Linked DNA regions of Homo sapiens: regions 1 and 2 are each linked to region 3. The links are contacts of gene promoters, found by promoter capture Hi-C in blood cells and fetal thymus (Javierre and others, 2016). All regions are on one chromosome and are shown on one strand. Each heading gives the region's core, a stretch centred on a gene start or on the middle of the fragment in contact. The rest is flanking DNA. Distances are from core to core; before and after follow the strand shown. Region 1 overlaps DSE (dermatan sulfate epimerase). Region 2 overlaps DSE (dermatan sulfate epimerase). Region 3 holds the start of CALHM5 (calcium homeostasis modulator family member 5).

Region 1 (4,648 bases), core at 514-3,013, 90 kb before region 3:
TGTTTCATTTTAACTTAAATTTGTAGTTCCATAACTATCTACTGTATAAAATCAGATTTTAAACGCAAATCTTCTACTTTATGAATTTACGAAGTAAATATTTTATAGGTTGGTAAAACTATAGTTATTCTGAAAATGAGAAAAAGAAGATGGATCATTTTATTGGAGTTATCCTCCTTTGTTGGAAAGGTCTGACAAATCATAAAGTCTCATTTAAATACACTTTAAAAAATATGTAGATTTGCCTATACTGTGGATCAAATTGTGATCTTTGGAGCATAGCTACATATGGAAAAGCCTGCTATAAAGTTGTTAGGTTCTGAAAAGTACTAGGAAATAGGATTAATTATAAAGGGAATTATGAGTTCTATTGTTTCTAGTATTTGTTTCTTGTATACTGTTGATTAATTTAAATAAGTATGAGTGATCTCTTGGCACATCTTTGTTTTCAAAGACCTAATTTCTTTTTATTGTAAGTGTTTATTTTAGCAGTATTTGTGTAAATTAAATAGACAGTTGCTATGAACTGAATGGGACCCTCCTCAAAATTTATATTGAAGCCCTAACCCCTTATGTGGAAGTATTTAGAGAAAAGGGCCTATAGGAGAGAATTAGATTTAGATGGAGGTCCTAAAGGTGGGGCTCTCATGATAGGATAAGTGCCCTGATAAGAAGCGGTGCCAGAGAGCTTGTACTCTTGTGCACTCTCTCTCACGCTTGCCTTATCCCCACACCATACATCTAGGACAGGCCAGGTGAGCACACAGTAAGATGGCGGCGGCCTTCTAAAAGCCAGGAACAGAGCTCTCACCAAAACCTGACCATGCGGGCACCCTGATGTCAGACCTTCAGCTTCCAGAACTTGTAAAAAATAAATTTCTGTTGTTTAAGCTACCCAGTCTATGGCATTTTGTTATGGCAGCCTGGGCTAAGACAACAGTATACAAATTTAAATAATATTCTGTGAACCTTGCAATGTTAAATTTTAATCTTTTCACAGGCAGTTATTTTCTATAGACTGTCTATATCAAAACTATATGAAAATTTTAAAAATAGAAGCATTTAATCACTTGCAGTTCAAATCTATACCAATAAAAATAGATAGCAACATTGTTTTTAGGGTTCCTTTTAATGGTTATTTAATCAAATAAACTGTCACCTTTTTAGTGATACAGACTTCTTCGATTGCCAACTATTATACTCCATACATAATATTTTAAAAAGCATTTATGATAATAGAAGCAGTCTATCCCTTTAAAATTGGTACAAAAATTTGGATTAATGAGACTGCTCAACTTTGGAAAAATAGTTATGGCTCATTCTTCCTTTCAGAATCACAACTTAATTCATAGACACAGCACATCATGACCAAACTCTATGCCTTTCCCCACCAACATTCCACCCTTACACTCAGAAAATCAATAGCTCTTTCCTGTGTTCAGATTAATTTATTTCATATAAATTCACCTTTGAAAATATTCAAAGTATCAGTTTTTAAACTTTTTGGACTTGGAAGCACTTTGTACTCTTAAAAATTAATGAGGACATCAAACAGCTTTGTTTATTTGGGCTGTATCTATCAAAGTTTACCATATTAGAAATTAAAACTGAGAAGTTTGAAACATTTATTTGTTCATTTACTCATATTTATATATTGTCAAAGCTCATTTCATATTAACATAAACATATTTTAGGAAAAAATAACTATATATACATATATATATATATATATATATTTTTTTTTTTTTTTTTTTTTTTTTTTTAGGTACAGGGTCTCACTGTGTCACCCAGCCTGGAGTGCAGTGGTGCAGTCATAGCTCACTGCAGCTTTGAACTTCTGGGCTCCAGCAATCTTGCTGCCTCAGCCTCCTAAGCTGGGACTTCAGGTGCATGCCACCAGGCCCAGCTAATTTTTAAAAAATTATTTTGTGTACAGACAGTTTTGCTATGTGGAACTCCTGGGCTCAGGCAATCCTCCTACCTTGGCCTCCTAAAGCACTAGGATTACAGGCATAAGCCACTGTACCCAGCCAAACTATATTTTTTTAAAACAAAAAATAGAAGGAAGGTGTTGTTTTACATCTTTGCAAATCTTATGTGTCTGCTTCTGCACTTGATTTGTTGCTATGTGTTTTTTTGGTTGAAGTATGTGAAGAAAATCCAGCCTCACAGGAATATGTGATTGACAAGGGAGGAGTATTTTAATAATCTTTTCAAATAATTGTGAATATTCTTCTTTGACGCTACACTAAAACTTGACTGATAGTGGTTCCATAAAAATTAATTTCAGTATAGAATCTGAAGCCATGTTAATGAACTCTTCATACTCTTTTACATTAAAATCCATTGGCATATTTTACACTTAGGAGTGGCTGTCTTATCGGTGCATGGTTTTATAACATCATGCCTTTGTTATTTTGCATGTGTGTTCACTGAGTTATTTCAGTCTACCGAATGTTGACACATTTAATTATACAATATAAAAATCATGTTTGTTGATGTTCTTACTGATTTCATCAGAAAAATCTTTAAGTATTGGTAAGCTCTTAAGCTCTTGGTAGTGGATGCAAATTTTCCAAAATTCTTATTTCCAGTTGAAAGCTCCAAGTTTGTCATTGGCAACAAAGGCTTTCAGCTTTCCTTGAACTGGCAGGCCTTCCTTGTTTATTTTCAAGAATATTTCTGTGCTAACACCCAAATTGAGATAACTATAATTTGTCAGTTGATCATTCTGTCATGTAAAAATGTTTCATGAAAAAACCGAGCTAGCTCAGCTCTCAACTCAGTGCATGACTTCTTTTGTTTGTAACGTTCTTGTACTTTGGTACTCCGTTTAATCACATAGGATATTAGAAAGATGTATACTCAAAGAGTTGAGATTTTATAAAGATTAATCACTTTTACCACTTCATCAAGGACATTTTTAAATAAAATTGGCTTTAAAAATTAAACAACAACAACAACAAAAACCTGAGTGCATGGCAGTGCAAAATCATACAAGGACTACTAGGGCAGTTTAGTGCCCCTGCTTGGATTCTTGCTAAGGTTACAGCAGTTTTACTTAATACTGCTTTTGTACCATCAGTGCAAATATCAACATATAACATCTTTACGTTATTATGAAAATGATTCTTATTTGTGAATTCTCTAAAATGTAATAGTCTCGGAAGCCCCTCCCTGGGCCTTACTTTGAGAACAGCTGCTCTAAGGGGTGAAACTGTAGTTTACAAAAGAGGAATAGTGTAAATATTTCCTCAGTTAACCTCCTCTTAACTAACTTGCCAGTGAACCCAGCTTCCATTCCTTGTGTAACACAGTAGCTGAATGTCAGGACTTGTAGGTTGCCCTTTACTTTACATTTATTTCTTTTCCCCCCAGTAGAGTTACCGGCTGAGCAAGTGTCAGCTGTATTTGTTCTCAAACCAGGTAATACAGTTTCCCTAATACCTGTAATGAGACAGTTTTAATAATACCAATAGATAAAGTGTGAGTTCAAAAAGAAAAAGCTAATATTTCTAGAACCAACCTAAAAGCTTTGGAATAACTTACTGTAAAAAATTGCTGTCATGATATAGTGTGATTGAGATTTGTAGAAGATTAGGGAAAAACTCATAAAAATCTAGAAGGCTTCTGCGTTCCCTCACAGGTATCTTTAATTTCTTCCTATATAATAAAGAAAACAAAGCTGGAAATTGTGGTGATGTGTTATGTGTGTTCTTTGCAGGAAAGAACAATGAAACTCCATCTGTAGACCCATATTCAGAGAATAGGTTTTGGCTCACCTTCAAAAGATTGGTGAATCTGTGTACACATGGATATATTTTAAGTTGAAGCACAATTCATAAATTAATGTCTGTCTGTTTTTTTAAAAAATAATTTCCCACTTCACCACCATTCACAGTGAACTGATTTATTACTGGTCAGGATCACATTGAATAAGATAGTTTCTCAGCTGCCATCCATGAACTAAGAGCAAATTTCCATTGGTTTTTATGACTGTAAAATATAGTCTCTTCCATTATTTCACTTTGTATCTAAGGCTGGGTAAGATCGTGTTGGTGAAAGATTTAGATAACTTTTTAGAAATACAGCTATTACAGGTCAGCTTTTCTAATGATATAGGGACAGACCTGAAGGTGCCATAAACTTTTTTCTTTTGGGGCGCCAGTGTTACATTGAATTGGAAACTGTTTGAAATAAACAAACTGCAGGTTGGGGCTTGGACATTTTCACAGAAATTTGCATAACATTTCATGAAGGATGAGAATTATATCAAATGTTCTGGTTATCTATAAAAATAAGCTTATTGGTTAATCACACATGTGAGGGTTTACTGGCTGGTAGCAATTCATTGACATCAGCTTTATCATGGGTCGGTGTATATAGTGCCATTTATAGATGCATCATGACATGGTACAATGACACAAGTTGGGAAACAAATGACCTGGCTTCCCTGCCTGGCCCACCAGTCACCATGAGTCAGTGAAGATGATATTCCCAACTCCCTGGCAATGAGTGTGCAGTATGAATTGTTTTTCTCCTAGAAGTAGAGAATTCATTCACACTCTCATAGTCTGTTTACAAACAGTACACACACTGGCAAGCTGACTGGCTAGAGCAAGGGAGCTTTGTCTGTTACTAAATTGCT
Region 2 (4,275 bases), core at 737-3,236, 110 kb before region 3:
ATTTTGTCTGCTTACAGATGTATTGATCCTAATCCCTGGTTCAGAAATGTTAGGAAAAGGAGATAAGTTACAGTGAAAGAGGCTGTAGTAAGAAATACAGGATTTTCTGGTTTTTTGTAATGTCTACTCAGATTCCCAGATGATTGTTCATTACCAGCTTTTGGTTATTGTGGTTTATGTATTAATGTCTAAAAAAATATACCATGTGATGTTTTTTGCATGATACTATGTGAGAAGAATACCAAGAATAATTTTTTCCTTACTTGAACAAATATTATACATTTTCCCTTAGTCCAAAATTCTGTTTTCCATAATGAATACAATTCTGATGTAGTATGTTTAACTCTATAAAATCAGAACTTTAGTAATTTTCTTCCTAATTAAATTTTTTTGTTGTATTTTTAAAAATCTAAATTCATAAGCTTTATTTTCACATATGGTTTCTACCTCTTATATGTTTCCACACCTGTGCCATGTTCCCTTGGCTGACAGACACTTTTTTTCCTTTTTATCTCACGTAGGATCTTTCGAAGATGGTTTGGCTGCCTTGGAGATTTGGAGATCTGATGCCACGATGAGGACTCACACACGGGGGGCTCCCAGTGTGTTTTTCATATATTTGCTTTGCTTTGTGTCAGCCTACATCACCGACGAGAACCCAGAAGTTATGATTCCCTTCACCAATGCCAACTACGACAGCCATCCCATGCTGTACTTCTCCAGGGCAGAAGTGGCGGAGCTGCAGCTCAGGGCTGCCAGCTCGCACGAGCACATTGCAGCCCGCCTCACGGAGGCTGTGCACACGATGCTGTCCAGCCCCTTGGAATACCTCCCTCCCTGGGATCCCAAGGACTACAGTGCCCGCTGGAATGAAATTTTTGGAAACAACTTGGGTGCCTTGGCAATGTTCTGTGTGCTGTATCCTGAGAACATTGAAGCCCGAGACATGGCCAAAGACTACATGGAGAGGATGGCAGCGCAGCCTAGTTGGTAGATTTTTGTCTTGTTCTTCTTACTGTGGTAACTCTGCATTAGAAAGAAACAAATCCATATGACATCTCAGTGGCCAGATCTTCATGTACCTCTTTGTGTATGTGTGTGGGGGGAGGTGTTATTTGTTATTTGTGTTGCCAGTCTTATGAATGGCCCTTAGTTTCAAAAGATGTAGTAACTTCCATGTTTAAAGTTAGAAGGAAAATATTTAGATGCAGCCTAATCTAAAGAAAAAATAATTTGCTGAATTGAGTAAAGAGTATCATCGTGATTGCTGAGAATTCTTTCTTCCATATTCAGCATGTATATATTACTATCATCTGGTGTTAGGTTTGATTGATCCCAAGTAGTTAAAACATTTTGCAGCAAGACATTTCAAGTAATTAAGACTTACTTGCATTTTATGATCGTAAGGAACTAAATGTGAATGGGATGGGACTGACTGGCAATTTATAAACACATCCCCTCCAATAACCAGCAGATTTCTGAGACCTGTAGGAAAACCAACATTATTGTGTAATTGTGTGAGGAATTCTAACTACATAATAATTTAGTTTCGAAGTTTAAGATTTGAGAACAAATTCCTGTCTTTTCGATTAGCTTAAATTTATTTGATTAATTTATAATTAATGCTTCATATGCTTCCAAACAGATATGGGATGAGTTGATTAAACAAGGGATTCTACAGATGTTTTTACTCATGCAATTTTTAAATACACATTTATGGTTCAATTGCAATAAAAGAATTTACAGATTGATGAAATTTTTTTAAAAAATTACATAAGCTGCCTCTTGTCATAGGGCTAGAGAGAGCTCATTTTAAATGCTTAGAAAAAAATCAGTGAATGCACCTAATGCTATGATGAATTACATCTTAACATATCACAGGGGTGAAGGATGGTGGTTTGCAAGCTTTCCGATAAATTTCTGGAATTTTGTAATGAAAAGTATTATGCAAGAGTTGGCATTAAATCCATATCAGAGCTGATATTTTAGGCCTGTTGCTAAGTACATGTAGTCATTTTGAAGTTTATAATATTGTAGGTTGAAAAGAATTTTTTATTTGATTTATTTCAAAGCTTAGCCATGTATGTAGTTGTTTCTGACTTTGACTGACATTAACTGATCTTATTCTATTCTTGACACCAAGAAAGAAAAGATGTATGAAAACTTATCTGATATTTGAATTACCAGATTACATTATCAAATGCTACAGTAACTCACTGATTGATTTGTTCAATTAGTTTAAAATAGCAACCATATTTACATTATTTAGAAAGAAACCTTTGTCATCTAGAAGGGTACTTTAAAGTCCTTTTTGTTTTAGATAAGTAGATTTTGGCAAATTAAGAAATTGATGTAAATGTTCCAGAGATAGAGCCTGTAGAGAACCGTGTATTTAATCTCACAAGAAAGTAATGGACTGTGAAATACCATTTTTGATGGAGATTGTTTAGCACAATACAGTAACATGAGAATTGTACAAGACTAGTACAGTTTTCTCATTATAATGTAAAATATTTGGGTATATAAATACCAATGAATGAATGCTGCCATTAGGATGAGACTCCTTCTATGAAAAGAGAAATAAATAACTTGAAAGAAATATTATAATTTTTACATAGTTTCCACAAGTCCAGATTTATTGATCACTGGAGGTGTATAGAAACTTACTAGGGGTCTAGTACTTTATTCATGGCAATATTGATAGAAATAGGTATAACTCTAGGCCATTATCTAGTAAACTAAAAGCCAATTTTTGACTTAATAGAGCTGAACAGTTGACTTCTTTCTCTTGACCTTCAAGGTAAAATCTTGAGAATTTACCTTTACATCTGGTTTCTAGTTGCAAAAGTGAACTTGGCTTAGAAAGTTGAGCTACTTGAACATTTTGTTTTGGCAGGTACTATTATTAAGTTGTGTTGTTTAATAACTTCACAGAAATTTTAACTTCTTAAAAACTACCACACCCAACCCTTAGACTTTTAAACTTTCATTTAGATTTGTGGTTGAACACAATTACAACACAATTATGTGCTGTAATAATTTAAAACAATGTTCAGTGATTTTACAGTTCAACTACCTCTGTTTCAATTGCTCCATTAAATCATATTCTCACTATGTACCAAGAAGTACACAATGAGTATTGTCATTGACTTAGGATATAATTCACCTATATTTGATTTCAGAAAAAACAAAAACAAAAAACTAGCTGTTACTTACAAAAGAGATCAATAATTGATATTATGAAAGTAAAAAAAAAAAAACTTTCTACAATAGCTTCATCAGGCTGAATGCATTTTCCATTTTCTTTGAAGAGCATTTTTACTCTTTTGAAAGCCAGTTACTAAGTTATGTTCATTCACTGATTCATTTGATCAACAAACGTTTATTGAGCATCTACTGTGTATCATGCACTGTGCTAGGGTGCTGGGGATTCAAAGTTGAAGAAATAGCCCAGTAATTTTATAATTTTTACCTATGGCAAAGGGTACAAACATTGGGTTCTTAAAGCCTAAGCTAAGGATATTTTCTCTGCTCAGAATTGAGTGTGTGGATCATTTCATAAGGAGTTTCCTTAGTTTTCATTCATGACTTAAACATTTGTATCATGCTGCACCCTAGTGTGGTAGAAAAGCACCAACTCTGGAGTCACACTGCCTTTGAATCCCAGCTCCCTCACTCTTCAGCTATGTTAATTTTCTTAATTAACTTTCCAGATTAATTTTCTTAATTTGCGTGAGCATTAGTGTCCTGATGTATAATGTGGCAGTAACAACCCTATCTACCTTATAGGGTTGCTAGGAAGATTAAGTGCAATAATCAATGTAAAGTACTTAGCACAGTTCTTGTCTCATAGTAAGCCCTCAGTAAATGAGAATAATGACAATAATGGTAATTATTGATGCTGTTCTTTTACCTACCTAGTAATTAGACCCTGTTTGGTTTATAATTTGGTATATGTAGGCTCCAAGGAAATAGTATCCATTTAGGATTTTACTAATCTTAATTGCTCTCAAAACTAGAACATCTGTTTAACTCATAAAATTTTCCCCTTGGCTTTTTCCATTAAAACGTTCATTGATGCTCCCCTGGGCCCTTTTTAAAATGTATACAAGAATCTAATGTTAACACCAATGAAGAAGGTTTAGTGGAAAGTAACAATGATGTGTCATTTGTCTGGTATTAAAAAGAAGTGCCTATGAGATATACATGCATACAAATTTATTAATGGGGTTCATTTCATTTGAATAGTAAATAAAGAGGTTAAAGTTCACCTCT
Region 3 (4,301 bases), core at 259-2,758:
ACCTTATTCCAGTAATAATGGCTATTACTAAAAAGGCAATAACAATAGATATTGGTATGAATTTTGTGAAAACAGAATGCTTGTAGAATGCTGGTAGGAATGTAAATTAGTACAACCTCTATAAAAAACAGTATGGAGATTTCTTTCTTTCCTTCTATGTATTTATTTATGAGACAGGGTCTTGCTCTGTCACCCAGACTGGAATGCAGTGGCATGATTTGGCTCACCACAACCTCAGCCTCCTGGGCTCAAGCGATCCTCCCATCTCTGCCTCCTGAGTAGCTGGGACTACAGGTGCATGCCACCGAGCCTGGCTAATTTTTTTTTGGTATTTTTTTGTAGAGAGGGAGATTCACCATGTTGCCTAGGCTGGTCTCGTACTCCTTGGCTCAAGCAATCCACCTGCCTCGACCTCCCAAAATGCTAGGATTACAGACATGAACCACGGCACCTTTCTTTCATTCTTAAAGAAAGAACTTTAAGTACTAAAAGTAGATCTACTATTCAGTCCAGCAATCCCACTACTGGGTATCTATCCAAAGAAAAAGAAGTCATTATATATTAAAAAAAAACACCTGCACATGTATATTTATTGCAACACAATTCACAATTGCAAAGATATGAAACCAATCTAAGTACCCATCAACTGATGAATAGATAAAGAAACTGTGGTGTATATATACCATGGAATACTACTCAGTCATAAAAAAGAATGAAATAATGTCTTTTGCAGCAACTTGATGGAGCTAGAGGCGTTATTCCAAGCGAAGTAACTCGGAAATAGAAAACCAAAAACTGTAGTTCTCACTTATAAGTGGAAATTAAGCTATGGGTACGTAAAGGCATATGGAGTGGTATAATGGACTTTGGAGACTCAGAAAGAGGGAGAGTGGGAAGGGGGTGAGGGATAAAAAAATACATATTGGGTACACATACATATCCGGTGATGGGTGCACTAAAATCTCATATATATATGTATATATATATATATGTATATTTATATGTATATTTCATCCATGTAACCAAAACCCACTTGTGCTCCAAAAGCTATTGATATATATATATATATATAATTTTCATATGTTTTTATATATATGAAAAAAGACAGCAAATCCCTGTCTTCCAAATCTCAAGTCATAGGAAGAGAAAAACATTCATAAAATTCTAGGTTTGGAGATTTGATTTGTCGGCTGAAACCTCTTTCTGTTAATGTTGATTCCTTACACTGGAAAATTCCTAGACTATTATTTGTATGAGTGAGAATTTCTTTTCTGATTTTCAATCCAAACCACATGGAAAGAAGGTTAAAATGGAGCCCGTGCACTTTGAATTTATTCTCAGCATTTAGGCTGCAGTATCACAGCCCAATTTCCACCAGTAGGAGGCATTATCTAAACATGTTGAGAAATATTCATTCCTAAGGAATGACATTGTTTCCTTATCTGGCTCAATTCAGTCTGAGAAGGACTGTTGTTTCTGATGAAGAAAGAGCTCCACCCTCGGCCACTGCCACAGCTGCTCTGCCAATAACAAAGGCACAGCATTTTCCCTCTGTGCATCTCCAACATGGATGCTTTTCAGGGCATTTTAAAATTCTTCCTTAATCAGAAAACTGTTATTGGCTACAGCTTCATGGCTCTGCTGACCGTGGGAAGTGAGCGTCTCTTTTCTGTTGTGGCTTTTAAGTGCCCCTGCAGCACTGAGAATATGACCTATGGGCTGGTTTTCCTCTTTGCTCCTGCCTGGGTGTTACTGATCCTGGGATTCTTTCTGAACAATAGGTCGTGGAGACTCTTCACAGGCTGCTGTGTGAATCCCAGGAAAATCTTTCCCAGAGGCCACAGCTGCCGTTTCTTCTACGTCCTCGGCCAGATCACTCTGAGCTCATTGGTGGCTCCAGTGATGTGGCTTTCTGTGGCTCTGCTCAATGGAACTTTCTATGAATGTGCCATGAGCGGGACGAGAAGTTCAGGACTCCTGGAACTGATTTGCAAGGGTAAGCCCAAAGAGTGCTGGGAAGAACTTCACAAAGTATCTTGTGGCAAAACTAGCATGCTACCTACCGTCAATGAAGAACTGAAACTCTCCCTTCAGGCCCAGTCTCAGGTAAGAAAAGACAAACTCGCCTTTTTCTCTCAGCATGAGCTCGAAGTATTCTCTCTGTGCTCCTTTCAGCCAGGGCTGTCTGTGTCCTGTCAGAATATTTTGAAACTAAATGGAAACTGAAACATGATGCAGCATTGAGACTATCTCAGGAAAAGCTTTTGAAAGGCTGGGTGGCTCAATAAAGTTGCTGACTGGATTATCTCTTTTCCGGTTCTGAAAAGAAAATATCCACTGGATTGTCCACATATAAATACTTAAGTACTTTAAAACAGTCTCTCTGGGTCTGTAAATAAATAATGCCTAACACTAAATCATAAATTGAGTGTTAATGGCAGAGCTGTAATTAGAAATTACTGCCTTCTATCAATTATTTACATTCAAGTTGTTTTCTCAAACACACACATGTATTATTCATCTATTAAAATGTAGCTGAATGAAATGAGTTATTACTTTTCAAAGTTGCATGTAATATAATTAGTGTGGAGATTCTCTTGAATGATTTCTGGCAACTGCTATCTCTGTGTATAAATATTGTCAAGATTGAGAAGAATTTTCCTTGTATGGTAGGAATCAGCAGTTTTTAAATAGCCTTCTGTGAAAAAGTGACTGTACTCTCTAGGGAGATTATGTTTTATACTCTTTGTGCTGTACAGCTAAAGGGGTTCTTAATTACTTCAGAAGCTCAAGATTTGGGCATTGTTTTATTTAACAGAAGGAAATCATATCTTTACCTAATTGATGCAGGGAAGTAGCCTGTCATTCCTCCAGGCACATGAACACAAATCCAGATGTACAGCCTTAGGAAGGACTAACTTCCCATTTATAGGTAGTAAGAATTGCATTCCCAAAAGCAAAACAAGTGGTAAGAGTTGATAAGCAGATCCACAAATTGTCAGGAATGCTATCTGTTTCAGAATAAAGGCACAGAAATAGCATTATTTTACTTTTTCGACAAGGATTTGCCTTGGTAACAACAAATCAAGGCAAAATCTGTTTTTAAAATCATACACTCCAAAGCTGGTTGGCAGTAAAGTCATACTCTTCATAAATTGATAAGTCAAAAAATACTCCAAAACAAAATCTTTTCTTTAATGCATAAAGCACATCTTAGATAAAACATATCAGGCTCCCAAATGTCTTGTGTCTTTTATTGAAGAAGGGTATAACTTACAACTCTTATGACAGAATGATTGATTTATGGTGTATGTCCTCAGTCACCAGGCTCCATTCAGTCAGTGGCAGGCCCAAACACTTATCATTGTGTGAGCTTCTCCTCTCTAAACACAGGTACAAGGAAATCTTGCACATCATGTCATAGCTTAGGCTGAGCACACTGACCTGCTGATTCTTCATCAGAATGAGAAGGACCTGGGGCTGATTCCTGTGGGAAGATGCATAAGGAATGTGGGCAAGAGAACTTGTATCAATAGCAGGTGCTGACTACAGAGGTTCAGATAGGCAGGAGGCAGCATATAGTCCAGACCAACAATAGGTGTACATGTGCCTGGAGGCGGAAAAGAACATTCATCCATGGGTGGGGCAGATAAAAAATCTAGCTGGATGACTCTCTATTCTTAAGGAAGATAGAATGGAGTAGTGGAAAGAGCTCAGTCTTGGAATTGTCTGGCGTTGGGTTTGTATGCTGATGCTACCAATCACCAGCTATGTGACCTAGAACTAGTGGTTCGACCTCTTTGAGTCCCAGTTTTCTCATAGTTAGTGGTAATATCACTTACTTTGGAGAGTTGTCGGAAGATTTAGAGATGATAGATACAAATGGGCATAAAGCTTCTGGTACACAGTATTTGTTCCAAGTCAATGAGGAAAACTGCCATGGTTTGGGGGAGGACATATGCAAAATAAGACACTTTTGAGGGCTGGTATGGAAGCATCCACCAAGCTCTAGTTTGACTCTGGGTACTGTGAATTGAGGGAAAGCATCGGTCAATGCAAACGTCATGTGAAAGGGGGAAGGGGACCTGAAGCTGATGGAATAGTTTATAATTCAGCTGGAACTGGCTCAGGTACTGAGATGAGATGGCGTACAGAAGCCTCAGCTGTGGAAAAAGAGGAAGACAGACGATGAAGGAAGGAGGAACATATAAGGTAGCCAACCACAATCCATTCAGGGACTTTCACTTGATGGTAGTTGTGCCTCACTCATTAATTATAAGTACAGAAAGATATTATGAGTT

What was found. Contacts are between HindIII fragments. The CHiCAGO score rates a contact against its expected background, and 5 or more counts as called.
Region 1: a fragment that was not itself captured here is called in contact with the fragment with the promoter of CALHM5 in region 3 in 4 of 17 cell types (naive B cells, total B cells, neutrophils and 1 more); the score reaches 10.4 in naive B cells.
Region 2: a contact is called between a fragment that was not itself captured here and the fragment with the promoter of CALHM5 in region 3, in 3 of 17 cell types (total B cells, naive B cells and M0 macrophages). The highest score is 7.7, in total B cells.

Annotation. Positions count from the first base shown.
Region 1 is chr6:116,419,729-116,424,376 of GRCh38, forward strand. All of the region lies in intron 2 of DSE (dermatan sulfate epimerase), which reads left to right. Among named protein-coding and RNA genes, the nearest start is that of CALHM6, 39 kb to the right of the region's middle. The HindIII fragment of the contact is 3,535 bases long and covers 1-3,531 here.
Region 2 is chr6:116,398,677-116,402,951 of GRCh38, forward strand. DSE (dermatan sulfate epimerase) reads left to right here. Exons shown (of 6, transcript NM_013352.4): 2 at 522-990. The coding sequence starts at 575. Among named protein-coding and RNA genes, the nearest start is that of DSE, 30 kb to the left of the region's middle. RefSeq lists enhancers at 275-775, 776-1,276. The HindIII fragment of the contact is 167 bases long and covers 1,904-2,070 here.
Region 3 is chr6:116,510,131-116,514,431 of GRCh38, forward strand. CALHM5 (calcium homeostasis modulator family member 5) reads left to right here and starts at 1,509. Exons shown (of 2, transcript NM_153711.5): 1 at 1,509-2,106. The coding sequence starts at 1,567. The region is part of intron 3 of TRAPPC3L (trafficking protein particle complex subunit 3L); the gene reads right to left. RefSeq lists an enhancer at 1,220-1,801. The HindIII fragment of the contact is 2,544 bases long and covers 1-2,259 here.